Linked DNA regions of Homo sapiens: region 2 is linked to region 1. The links are contacts of gene promoters, found by promoter capture Hi-C in blood cells and fetal thymus (Javierre and others, 2016). All regions are on one chromosome and are shown on one strand. The core of a region is centred on a gene start or on the middle of the fragment in contact, and the rest is flanking DNA. Distances in the headings are between cores, read along the strand shown.

Region 1 (6,153 bases), core at 2,814-5,313:
AGTATCAATTTTTATGCGGCTATGGTGGGGGGAGGAATCAGCATATCGTGTTAGCAATTTTCTGTGGAATCACATTAGTGTTTCATTGTGGTAGCCGTATCACATTAAAATCTGTTTTTCTACTAAATGGCTTCCATTGTGTATTTAGTGAATCTGATATGGAAAACTGCTAATGCAATAAGAGTATCATAGAAGCTTTTCCTGACTGTAATGCTCAGCCACAATGTTCAGGAGAAGGAGGCTCTCAACTGGGCTGAGGGGATTTCAGGCCTCTGAACTAGTCCTCAGCTCAGATTCAACACCAGCTTCTTGAAAGATGGACTTTATCCTATGGGTGAAATGCTTTTACAGACTTTATTTCAGGAGGGACCATGGGTTCAGTGAAAAAATGTGTCATGTATTTGTTATTTATTGATAGAGTACTATAAAGGGCACTGTGGTCAGCATTCAGAGAATAAAAAAGGTAGATGAAACAGTCCCTTCCTTCCTGGATCTTGTAAGGATGGTCTGAGGGGAAGAAATAAATTAGTCTATGAGTAACTTAATACAAAACAGGTAAGAGTTGAAAAGGCGAAGAGCCACAGGAGCTCGAAGGAGGACATACCTGGGACCAGGGTCATCACAGAAAGTCCCGTGAAGGCAGCGCCTGAACAGGGCATACAAGATGAAGAAGTCATATTTGAGGATCCTGTGGGAGGTGGGGAAGCTGGGAAGGCCTCAGCGTGGGGTAAAGGTGCACAGGAGAGGAAAGCCAGGGTATGCATGGAAACTAGCATTTGCTATTTTAACTGCAGCATAAAATAGGGAAAGACCGGGAAGATAAGCCTGGAAAAGTGGTCTTGGGTCAGCCTAACACAAAAGGAAGCCGACACCAAAGGAGAGCAGAATACAAGTCAGGCAAGTGCGGCCGAGGTGTCCGTCATGGTTTTGGGGTAGGAAGTGTCAGGATGAAGACCACCAAGCAAGAAGAACATCCAGTTTTCATGGGTATAATGACTCCTAATGCTAACAGATATCTTGAAATCCTAACAACTTTAGTTGACACAAGTTTCTTAAGAGACAAAATTTACCGGAATATTTATTTTAAAAGGTTAGTTTATTACCAAGGGATAATTGTTTATTTTTTTAATGTCCTTACTTAGGACATGGACATTCACCAGGATAACATGAAACATTGTGAAAATGCTCACAGTATTGTTAAGTACTTATGCATTTACTGTTTGCATTTTTTTTTTTTGCTTTAGAATAACTTTTCAACCCACTAGCAACAGTAACCAAGGAAATATAAATCCAACAGCCTAGAATTACAACTATTTGAGAAGATTCATGGTTTCAACGTACTGCTATATTTACTGTTTCATTCTGGACAGTTTCCCGTTTCTTTAACTCCTCTCTAAGTGTCCAAAACAATATACAGAAAGTCTGCACTAAGCTTCGTTAAAGCTTTAAAATTTAGCATAGTATGTCTGGCAAATCAGAAAAACCACATATTTGTCATAACCTTTACCTTCCCTAAAATCAGAGTACATCCTGTGGATAAGGATTATTTCCCACATATTAAAGCAGAACATGATGAAACTGCTGTCCTATTTATTACAGAGGGAATGTCAGATATAAAGTAGTTACCTTAATCCTACGGTGCTCACTTACGAAACACCATCCCTCCAGTTTGGCAATGCATAGTGCACTCTCATTAATCAGAATTAAACTATTTGGAAAACATATTGAGTATTTTCATATTGACATTGAATATTTTCATCTTTATGAAACAATTTCTGGACAGACTTTTTTCCCTCCAACTGACCACATGATTAGTAAAGATAGTGTACCACTTGTTTATTACTTATGGATATCTTTAGTAATGTTTCATTTAAAAAACAAAACAAAACTCTTCTTTCTCATCCATGTCTTGGGCAATCACAGATGCAAGAGTTGACATCTGTGAATATTTTCTGATTACTTACTAACTAGGAATATATAAGTTAAAAAAATTTTTTAAAGGAGAAAAGCCAAATAGTTCATGTTGACTTTGAAAGACTGATGACAATGATGTGGCAATTCTAAAGTACTTAGAGGTTTAACCCAAAATTTGTTTACGTCTTTGATTTTTAGTAAACACTGCACTGATAAACATGAGTTTGTTCAGATCAAGAGTATGTTGGCATTCTCTTAAGCATAGTTTGAAACCAGAGAGCTCAAGCATAAAACAGCTCTGACAAAGATAACCAGTCAAGCATAAAAATGGGAGTTGGTTGTGTCAGAATACATTAAGAGGCCGAAGGCTGTCTGGCAGACAGCTGTCTTGCCATCACTGAAGGTGACTATTACCACTAAAAGTTGTTTTTCGGATACAGTACTTGAAATTGCTGTCATCTTGTATTTAAAATGCTCCTTATTTATAAAGCGTCACATCCTTTTCTTATCTGAAGCCTCCTTCTTGGATAACCACAAACCTAAAAGCAGTCTAAAATTGTGCTGATGCTTTCCTACAAGCACAGGGAAACTCTTATATTGAATCTTTGTCTATTTGGAGTTGAGAATGTCTTTGGCTTTTATTTTAAATGCCTTCTTAAATATAGATCACTATTTTTAAAATGTAAACATCCAAAGGCATTCCCTCACACTTGGAGGAATGCTAAGGCAGGAGACATGCTTGTAGTAGTCACATTTCACTTTCCCAGACGGGTGCCACAAACGTTCCGCTCAGTTACTGCTTAGGAGGCAGCATTATTAAATGCCTCACGACTTAACGGTCAGCCTCCATGCTTCTTGCTAACCTACATTTCCAAAAGATCATCCGAGAAATCTGGCAAGCCACCGAAATGGTACTAGTAAACTGGATCCATCCAAAGCACTCCACAGTGCCCTGTGGGTGTGTTTCTCACTGTAAACTACTGGGTAAAGAATTTACATACAATTTTATCTCCAAACTCGATTTGTATCCTTTGTAGGTTAGTTCTCAGGAGTACCCACTCCAGCCCAGAAATAAGTCAACGTAGTATTTCCAAACTATCACTTCAAATGTCCACGGTCAAGGGCAGGAGGAGGAAGGAATAGTAACGGGAAAACTTGTCAGCGATTAGCCATCCATAAAAATGTTCTCCCAGCGCTCCTCCTTCCGATCACAAAGCTGGCGTCAGGCAGTCTCCTGTATCTGCTTCCCACCTCGCCCCCTCCCCTCTGCGGAGAGCTGGCACCGAGGGGCGGGCCAAGGAAAAGACAAACACCCCGGCTCCGACACAGTCCAAGCGCGAGCCCGGAGACACTTCAACAACATTCCTAACTTTTTTTCTCAGTTCGCATGCCTCAAAGGTAAACAAAGCAAAAAGCCTACGAAACAGAAGGCAAGTGAGGCCAATTCGGCGCTGGCGAGTTTAAAAGTGGCCCCCAAAGAGTCACAATGACGACCCCCGCCGCCCCCTCTGTCCGCTGTCCCCTATCTCCAGCTACAGCAAGCGACCCCTCAGGCGCCTATCCTGGTCCCTGCCCACGCCCCGGGCCCCAGCCCCGACCCGACCGCCGCCCCCGCCGCGGGTCGAACATCCCCTGACAGGTCCCGGGGCCCGCGGCGCGGGCGGATGCAGGCGCGAGGAAGGCGAGCTGCGCCGCGGCCAACTCCCCAGAGCAGTCCCCTCCGGCCCCGCGCCCACCCCACCCCACCCCACTCCACCCCAGACAGGCTCCACCAAAAAACCCGGGAACAACGACCGCCAAAAGCCAAGCCTCACGCCGAGGAGCCTCCCAGGCTGCCCCGAGGACGAACAACTTCGCCCTCCACTCAATGCGCTCACACGCACGCACACAAGCAGCGCGCGGCCGAGGAGGGCACGTCTTACCTGTCCCCGCCGTGCCACTCATCCCTCCCCCACCCAGGTCCGGCGCCCCCAACCCCGCCCCCGCCGTGGTCCCCCGGCCGCCCGCTCCGAGCGCCGCGCACTCACTGCCTGGCTGCGCGCGCCCAGCGCCTGCAGGGCCCGGCGGCGGCGGCGGGGACCGAGACAGCGGCTGCAGCAGCGGCGGCGGCGGCGGCGGCGGCGGCGGCCCCAGCCGGCGTCAGTCAGACTGGAGCCGCGAAGCCTCATCGCCCGTATTAGTGCGCCGACCTGGAAAGCGGCCAGGGAGCCCTGCTTGCGGCCCGCCCCCGCCCGCCGCCGCGCGCTCTGGCCGCTCCGGGAGCCGCAGAGGAGGGGGCTGCGCGGGCCCGGCGGGGGGCGGGAGCGAGACCGGCCCCACGGCCACGTGCGCGGAAACTCGCGGCGCGGGGGTGGCGGGGTAGTACTCCTCGCAGCGGCCTGCGGCTCGGTTCCCGCCTCTTCCCCACCCCCAGCCCCGCGCTGCCCTCTCGGTCCCCCTGCGCGACCCCAGGCTCGGCCCCTGCCCGGCCTGCCGGGGTGGCCCGGGGGTGGGGTGGGAGCCCTTTGTCTGCGTGGGTCGCCTCGCGTCTCTCTCTCCCACCCCACCTCTGAGATTTCTTGCCAGCACCTGGAGCCCGAAACCAGAAGAGTTGTCAGCCCAACAAGAATATAGGATCACCGGCCCATCAGTCTGGAGACCCTTCTGAGCTGCTGTTCCTCACATGTTTCTGGGCCCTGATAGTGACTCTCACTTGCCCTGTTTGTTCCTGATTTGCTTTTCGGAGTAAGGGGATCCTGTCCCCATGGACAGTGACAGAGCAACTGGGCCGCAATGGCATAGGCAGAAGAAAATCTAATCACTCTGGGGGTGAGTGGTGGTTAAAACGACTCATGTAATTATGTGGATTGTAATTTCCTTACACATATTTATTTGCTTAACAACCCAGCATGTGAGATATATTATCTAATCTAATAAAAGATACAAACTTATGGGCACACAGCAATGTTACTGTACAACTTTCTCGTCTCACGGCCTGGCTGTCCCCCAGGTAGCCTGCCTCTTAAAGTCACTGTGGACTCCTGGAACCCACTCAGAAACGCCACTTAGGAAGAACCACCTCTGATTCCCCATCAGCCCGTAGTTCCTCACAGAAAAGGCATTTGCTGCAGGGGTGAACGTGGAATAAAGCCACAGGGCAGTTTTCAGCTTGCTCCTGTGTGCAGGAAAGTCATACCTCCAGTTGGCCCCGATGGCGGCTCCGAAATGTAAAGCAAGGCCTTAAATTTAACTGCTTTTTCTAGTTCTCAAAGCACTGCACTTTCTTCATGGCAGATGCTATTTTTGCATTATTATACCGTTGTAGTTGAACGGTGATTTGTTTAAAACAACATTTGCAGCAGAACCTTAAATACCATGCCTTAACCTCAAAGTCTTCTTTCTACACTGGCCCAGATACCTCTGCACCCGGCTATGTGTTGGGTTTGAGATTGTCCTGGGTGAGAAACACCAGGAAACAGCGGGACCGGTAAGGGCTACAGATTATATATTAAGGATTAGGCTGGATGTGGACTTTATTGCCAGTAAACTAATTAGGTCCTCAGAATTGATACCTTGTGGCTCAAGTTTTTAAAAATTAAATTAAGAAAAGAAATGGCCCAATCACTATCTCAGTTTCCTTCTCGTATATGAGCATAATGCAGAGGACAAGATGCAGAGAAAGAAATTATAACCTCTGCAGCGCTGGCTCATGCTTCTGGCATGGAGTCTTTCTCAGTTCGCAGAATTCTCTTGACTCTTGGCAGGCCTTTGATTTAGAGTATGTCTAGTCTGCTCTTTTCTGTACGTTCTCATTTACATACCAGGATATTTCTGCACGATGATGACTTTTTCCTGCCTAAACATTAGTCTGTCACTGATATAATTCCTATCATGTATTCCTCAAGGCTAGTATAGAAAGTTAATCCATTACGCTCAAGAACAATAAGATCTGGTGAGTTCCAAGAAGGAGAAAATGCTTGGCCTAAGACAGAAGGCGCAGTGTTGACACTCCATTTTACAGAAGCTGACTGTCCTGGTTAATGGAAAGCTAGACTTCGCTTTATCTTTCCCAGTGATTTCTTGATTGGCTGTGGTTTTACTGCTTAATAGAACTTCCACCAAAACATTCTGTTATGGGAATCATATGAAAGGAGAGACTCAGAGGTTGTGATTTGGTAGAACCGCCAGTGAAATTTTGGTTCAGGACCTCAAAACCACGGCAAAACTGAAATCTGTTTTCTGAAAGATGATAAGGTCTTG
Region 2 (6,936 bases), core at 2,566-5,065, 640 kb before region 1:
CTACACACCACATCACATTTTCTCCTATGTCCTAGCCTCTAATTGGCACTTCTTTCTTCGCTTTTGAATAATTTGCCTGAACTCTGGACAACGTGTTTTATCCTCTCCTACAGCAGAATTTTCTAGAACATTCTTTTCCTGAACATTCATAAAGCCTTCCCCTTCTTGACTTCTGTGATACCATTCTTCCAGTTGTCCCCCCATCCTTTCTCAATATTTTTCCTTCTCAATAATATTCCCTAAATTGCCTCCTAACACTTTAAATGTCAGCATTCCCCAGGGTTTCAACCTCAATTCTATTTTTCAGACTGCATATTTTTCCTGAGCAATCCCTTGTAGTTTCATGACTGCATGTGACACTTATGACTTGGTGATCTCTGTTTTCAGAGAAGCAACTTTCCATAATCCAAAACTATTTTCAGTTGCTTCCAAACCACTATCACCTGTGTAATACACACAAACAAAACTAAACTTACCATTTCCTAACATCCTAATTTCAATTTCTATTATCCTGTTCATTGTAATCCATGAAGTTATTCAAGCCAAAACTCTCAATTGTCATTAAATTCTCTTGCAGTCTTACCCAATATCTAAGTATTCATGAAATCCTCATTCCTAAATAGATCTTTAATCTGTCTCCTCTGCTCCATCCCCATATAATACTGCCCAAGCTAAAAAAAAACCCACCTTCCCTTACCTAGACTACGACAAAAGCATCCTAGCTGGTTTCTCTGATTCAATTCTAACCCACCCTGAGGAATCCTTTCTTCATGGTGGTTGGGGTGGGGGTGGGAGGATCTTTCAACCTCTATATAAAATATTTCAATAGCTTCTTATCATATACAAAAAAAATTCACACTCCCTACCATGAATACCAAACCCTTTATTATTTAGCCCCTGCATATTATTTCCAGCTTCATCGCTCATCATCCCTCTTATTTATTCCAGACATACTGAACTAACTGTAGAGCTGGGGTGTCTTTAGACAGACTGACCCAGAAATACTTTATAATAATTTGAAAATCTACCTATCTTATGATTTTAAAATTCCACTTCTAAGAACATGTATACTTGAAGCAGTGGTTCTCAAACTTTTTTATTAGAATTACCTGAAGAGTTAATAAAAATATAGAGGTGGCAAGTAGGTTGAAGGACAGGACTTGGCCTTTGTATTTTTATGAAGTGCCCTAGGTGATTCCATAACCTACCAAAGTTTATGGATCACTGCCTTAAAGCAGAGGCTGGCAAACTATAACCTAAAGATCAAATTCAGCTTCTGCCTGTTTTTGTAAACCAAGATTTTTTAGAATACAGCCCACCAATTAGGTGTTGTCTATGGCTCCCTTTATACTACAGCAGCAGGGTTGAATAGCTACAACAAAGATCAGAGATCATACAACTGCAATGCTGAAAATATTTACTATTTATCCATCTACAGAAAAGTTTGCTAAGCCTAGAGGAACACTTTGCACTGAAAGACACATATAAAGATATTCACTGTGGCAATGCTTGTCATAGTGAGATTTTGAAAAATTCATGATGTACGTAAATAGGCTAATTTACGTAATTCATGATGTACGTAAATATACTAAGGATATACACATATAATGAAATACTATACAACTGATAAAATTTACTAGATCTTTATTAACATGAATGGAATTAAATAATGAGTAAAAGAATGATATGCACAGTATGATACTTTTTATATGCATTTTTATACATACAACATGTAGAGAGATATTAAAAATAAACTGAAATAATATATACCAAATTCATGGTAGTCCTTGCCTATAAAAAGGAAACAAAAAGAAGACAGGGAGGAGAATAAAAGGGATCTCAACTCTATAAATTGTTTTCATTAAAACATTTAAAGTCAAAAAGGGACAAAGATCTGAAGATTTATAAATACTAGAATATGGAGTTGTTTGCCATAATACACTCTGTGGGTTTCAACTCAAAATTAAAACCAGAAACAACCTAAAATACCCAGTTATAGGGAAAAGTAATTGAACATTCACATTCCAACACAATGGAACATAATATATCATTGAAAAATGCACATGAAGAGAACATAACATATGAAATAATTGACTTAATTACCCCAATTAGCATAGGATTCAAAACTGTCCATGCGGTAAGGTTATAATTATATTTTAAACAACAATAAAAACTAGCTGTAATCCTTTTTCACTTTGTTTGTTGGCTGACTTATTTATTTGGTTGTTCTTTTTAATCAATATGTATGCATACAAAAATTACTAAAAACAGAACTGTCTACAGTGGATATGTTTGATTTTATGATATTCTTTTTCTATACCTTTTATTTTCCAAATAATATCAGCTGAATACATGTTGAACGAATATGTATGAATGAATTGAATGAATACATAAAATGAAATGCCTTCACTTTAAATGACTTTGTGTGTGGCAGATACAGCCAACTGTACGCTCACAATCCACTCTTCTCTTCTTCCTGTATATTCAGTAAAACACTATATTTCCTAGCCTGTCATGCACACGAAGGTGCCCATATGATACAGTTCTAACTCCCAATGAAATGTCAAGGGGAATTACTGGGTGCAGCATCTTAGAAAGCTCTTTGAAGGGGAGTAGACGTGACCGGCTTTCACCTTTACCATTTCTCCTTCACCTATGTCTTTTTTTGAATGATAACGTGAAGCAGCTGAGAAGGCGAAGCAGCCATCTTTAAACACGAGGACAAAAGCCACTCACAAATGGATGGCAGAGTAGAAACTTAGGGGAAGCCTGGATTCCTGAAGGCATTATACAGCCACTGCACCACCCCTGGACTGCAAACCTCATACTTTCTGTCACATGAGGAAAAAAAAGAAAAGAGAAAAAAAAAACTTTACTTGTTTAAACCTTTCTCTTACATTCTGCCAAATGCAACCCTTGATACATCATGCTAAAATAAAATTTTAATAAATTACCCCACTGAAAGACACTTAGAAGATAATATAACGTATCTTACCTTCAGAGGAGAAAAGTGAACCTCAAGAAAAAAAAAAGTTGGAGGCACCAACCTATTATCAGAACAAAGACTAAAGCTTCACTCTCACTTATGTGAATAATTTTTTCTAAAATATTAAAATCACACTGAACTTTACATTTCAAAATGGCTGAAACAGGCGGGGTGTGGTGACTTATACCTGTCATCCCAGCACTTTGGGAGGCGAGGCAGGTGGATTGCTTGAGCTCAGGAGTTCGAGACCAGCCTGGGACACACGGTGAAACCTCGTCTCTACTAAAAATACAATAATTAGCCAGGCATGGTGGCATGAGCCTGTAGTCCCAGCTATTCAGGAGGCTGAGGTGAGAGGACTGCTTGAGCTCAGCAGGCAAAGGCTGTAGTGAGCCAAGATTGAACCACTACACTCCAGCCTGGGTGACAGAGTGAGACCCTCCCTCAAAAAAAAAAGAAATGCTGAATGGTAAATTTTAAGTTATGTATATTTACCACAATAAAAGAGAGATAAAATTATATTAAAATGAAGTCCACTTTAATGATATAGTTTAAAGATAACATTTTATACATTTTTGTCAAATAACATATAAAATATTACACATATACTAGTCAACAACGAGTGCCCATCCTTTTGCTACTCATAAGCAAATCTGTAGTTTGAAATTATTCAAAATTAGTATTCAAACTAACACATCAATTTCATAAGTATGTCTGTACAGATTACTCCTAAACACTAAACAATCCACAACAAGGATAAAGAATCGGGAAATTTACAGATGGTATTTGAATTCATACTCTATCCCACAAAAGCAACTAATTTAAGCCCTTTTCCCTAATTGTCAATTTAACAGGAAGCCAAAAATATGTCTGCATTACACAATTATATGTCTGAATTTCACAAATATTATTCTTTATATCAAAGAATAAGACTTAGTTTTGTCCTTAGCTAAGAGGGTCTCTTGACTGGATATAGGATTGTTGGATCCCAATGCTTTTTGCTTAGTAATTGGACACTTCTATCGCTGACTCCTTGATTAGATTTCTAATCTCTGCTGCTCAGACACACCCCTCTTGGATTCATGAGTACCAAACACTCATGAAAGCACCTGTCCAGAGAATAGAGAGGACCAGTTCTGTTTATACTGAACTTTCATTCTCTTTCCTTTCTGCTTGGTCTGTGGTCCCACTCTTCGTTGTGCTAATATTTCTTCAGTCCTTTACTGTGGAGAAATATAATTCTCTGTCTCTGGATCTAAATTATTAAATCTCTTAGAGAACCACATTTTCTTCAAAAATAACACAAATACATCAAGGAAAATAAATGTATTTTTTCCAACATGAATATGTTCCAGAGTCTCAGGTAGTAGTTAGAAAACCAATTAAACGCTCCTTAGATATGCCCTAAGGTATTTTACTAAGTCATACCAGCACTTGTTGCTACTCTCCACAAGGGTGGTGATACCCACTCTGTTGAGCTAGGACTGAGCCTCAGTTATCAAGAAGCAGGTAGACAGAATATTTTATATCCAGTAGGTAGTAATAAAATTCTACCTGCAATTAAGAAAAGGCACTAAGCTTAACATAGCCCTAGCAACTATTTCTAAATGCCACAAGAGGGCGATATAACTCTATGACAGCACATGGGAAAACAATTTTTCGAGTTAGAAAAATTCCTGACTTTCCAAGATATGGAAATAAAGGCATGTCTGGGTTGAAAGTAACAAGCGTGCAAAAGGACTTATTTCTCCTCAATTCATTATTAGCAAAAACACAGTATTTGTCTATATCTTTCTCTGAAGGTTGGCGGTGATTCAAAAAGCAATATCTATACATGCTCTGCTCTTCAGGACACCTGTGAATATAGCTGGCAACTTAGTGCTCCACCTATAGCTACTCAAAAATTATTTGTTGTCCTTCAAACAGATCCCTTGAACAAAACAGTTTATTTGGACCTTGCGCTAGTCTTCAAACTTCTCTTTGAAATACGTCTGGAAAAAATAGACATAATTTCCTTCAATTATTCTTTGTGTTTAATCACATTTCTACTCACCACTGGCATTCGTTCATAGACACGAATAGAAGATAGTCTATCTACAATAAATCAAATATGAGCACTTAATGTTTTATCAGTTTTAACTCAAATTATAAAATGTACATATGATTGGTTTTGTACCTGAAGAGTTTCCATGGATTTTTTCCACTTTCTCCTTGAGATAAACAATTTGCTTTTCTAGTTCATCATTTAATTCAAGTTGTGTCTCATAACGGGTTTTCCATTCACTACCTGAGTAAAAACAGGGAGAAACAATCAAGATCACCCCACCACCTCTCATTTATTCATTAAAATAACATTATGAGCTTGATCTTACTCTATTACTATATTTGACTTTATTGGCAATACAGATCAACTAGAAGGAAATAGTTATTAAGTCTGTATTTCTGTTAGTAAGATTTTCCAGACTGCAAGAATTAGACTCACACTCAGGCTACCAAACAGCCAAACCTTATCACAACTACTGCAATTCCTCTTCTTCCCTACTTCCCACCTGCTTTTTTCTTTTACTTCTTGTGCATCCTTACAATGAATTCAATTAGAGGGAATATCAGGACATGTTTCTTTCCTTGGAACTTGAAATACCCATATATATAATATCCATATATTTCATATATGATATTTCATATACATATCCATAAATATATATATTTCAAGTTCCAAGGAAACTTGAAATACATATTTATATATTTATACATTTTATATATGTTTATGTGTATATAAAATATCCTAAACATTACTAACCTATCCAATGTCATGTTCATTTTTTTTCCTTTGAAAGCAATTCTGAAGTCTGCTGAATAACTATCACTTACGTGTCTGCCGTGTGTAAAGCACACAATGCTTCACATACATTAAGTAATTTAATCCTCATTTTAGAAATGTAGTCACCTATTTTACAAAGATGAGGAAACCAAGGCTCAAAGATGTCAATGTCAAATAACATTCTTAAGATGACAGAGCTAATAAATAAGGGAACCGGGTTTTTAATCCAGTTTTATCTGCCTTTGAAATCATATCCTCTTAACTCCTAAGCTGAAGGAACAATGTACATTTAGCTATCTTCTCAGGCATTTTCTCTTAACCTTAAGCAGTTTTCTTTCACTAAACCCTTTTAGCTATTAAAGTCAAAGCATTTTCCTTATGTCTGGGGAAAAAGAAGAATACAGCCTAAAATTAAAAGGTCTTTGTTCAGATTCAAAGCCCAAAGCTAACTTTTTCGAGTCTTTAAAGTCAGGCTTTGTAGAGGGCAAAAAGATGGCTTCTTTTTCAACTTTAAATGCTCTTCACAGGTCTGAAATAACTGCTGCTACATAACAGTTAGTGGAAGAGTTAAGGAGAAAGAGTATTAGCACATACCACTACCAACCTCCTCAGCCCTGACACAGGTCTCCCTTACACCCTCATCTCTATGCAAATGCGGTCTACCAAAGGGGATGGAACCCCCTCCCATACTGAAACTGAAAGTCATTAACCCAAAAGCTTTGGAAAGGTACAAGAAGAAAGGAGAAGCCCTGAAAGACTAAACATTTACCCAAAAGATACAGTAGAGCTCAACTGTATGGAATCATCTTTATAACTTGCTACCTAAAGTCTCCCTTTGTCATGGTATCCCCTTTCCTAACATGGTAACGGATTCTTCAGAGCAAGATGAGAATGGTTACCAAAAAATTAAAAATGCAATTTATTTTTGGCACATCTGAGTACAGTTTATAAATTTTGACACCATTTTATTTAAAAATATTATTGACTTTTAAGTCAATCATCAAATTTAATTATCAAATATAGACAAGCCAGCCAGGCACGGTGGCTCACACCTGTAATCCCACCATTTTGGGAGGCTGAGGCTGGTGGATCACTTGAGGTCAGGAGTTCAAGACTAGCCTGGCCAATG

What was found. Contacts are between HindIII fragments. The CHiCAGO score rates a contact against its expected background, and 5 or more counts as called.
Region 2: a contact is called between a fragment that was not itself captured here and the fragment with the promoter of SMAD9 in region 1, in 1 of 17 cell types (M0 macrophages). The highest score is 5.5, in M0 macrophages.

The regions. Positions count from the first base shown.
Region 1 is chr13:36,916,175-36,922,327 of GRCh38, forward strand. It overlaps SMAD9 (SMAD family member 9), which reads right to left and starts at 4,064. Exons shown (of 7, transcript NM_001127217.3): 1 at 3,942-4,064. RefSeq lists silencers at 3,975-4,044, 4,155-4,204. The HindIII fragment of the contact is 8,984 bases long and covers 1,442-6,153 here.
Region 2 is chr13:36,278,430-36,285,365 of GRCh38, forward strand. CCDC169-SOHLH2 (CCDC169-SOHLH2 readthrough) reads right to left here. Exons shown (of 16, transcript NM_001198910.2): 2 at 5,163-5,273. The coding sequence starts at 5,177. It overlaps CCDC169 (coiled-coil domain containing 169), which reads right to left. Exons shown (of 8, transcript NM_001144981.3): 3 at 5,163-5,273; 4 at 5,040-5,080. Among named protein-coding and RNA genes, the nearest start is that of CCDC169, 16 kb to the right of the region's middle. The HindIII fragment of the contact is 1,493 bases long and covers 3,070-4,562 here.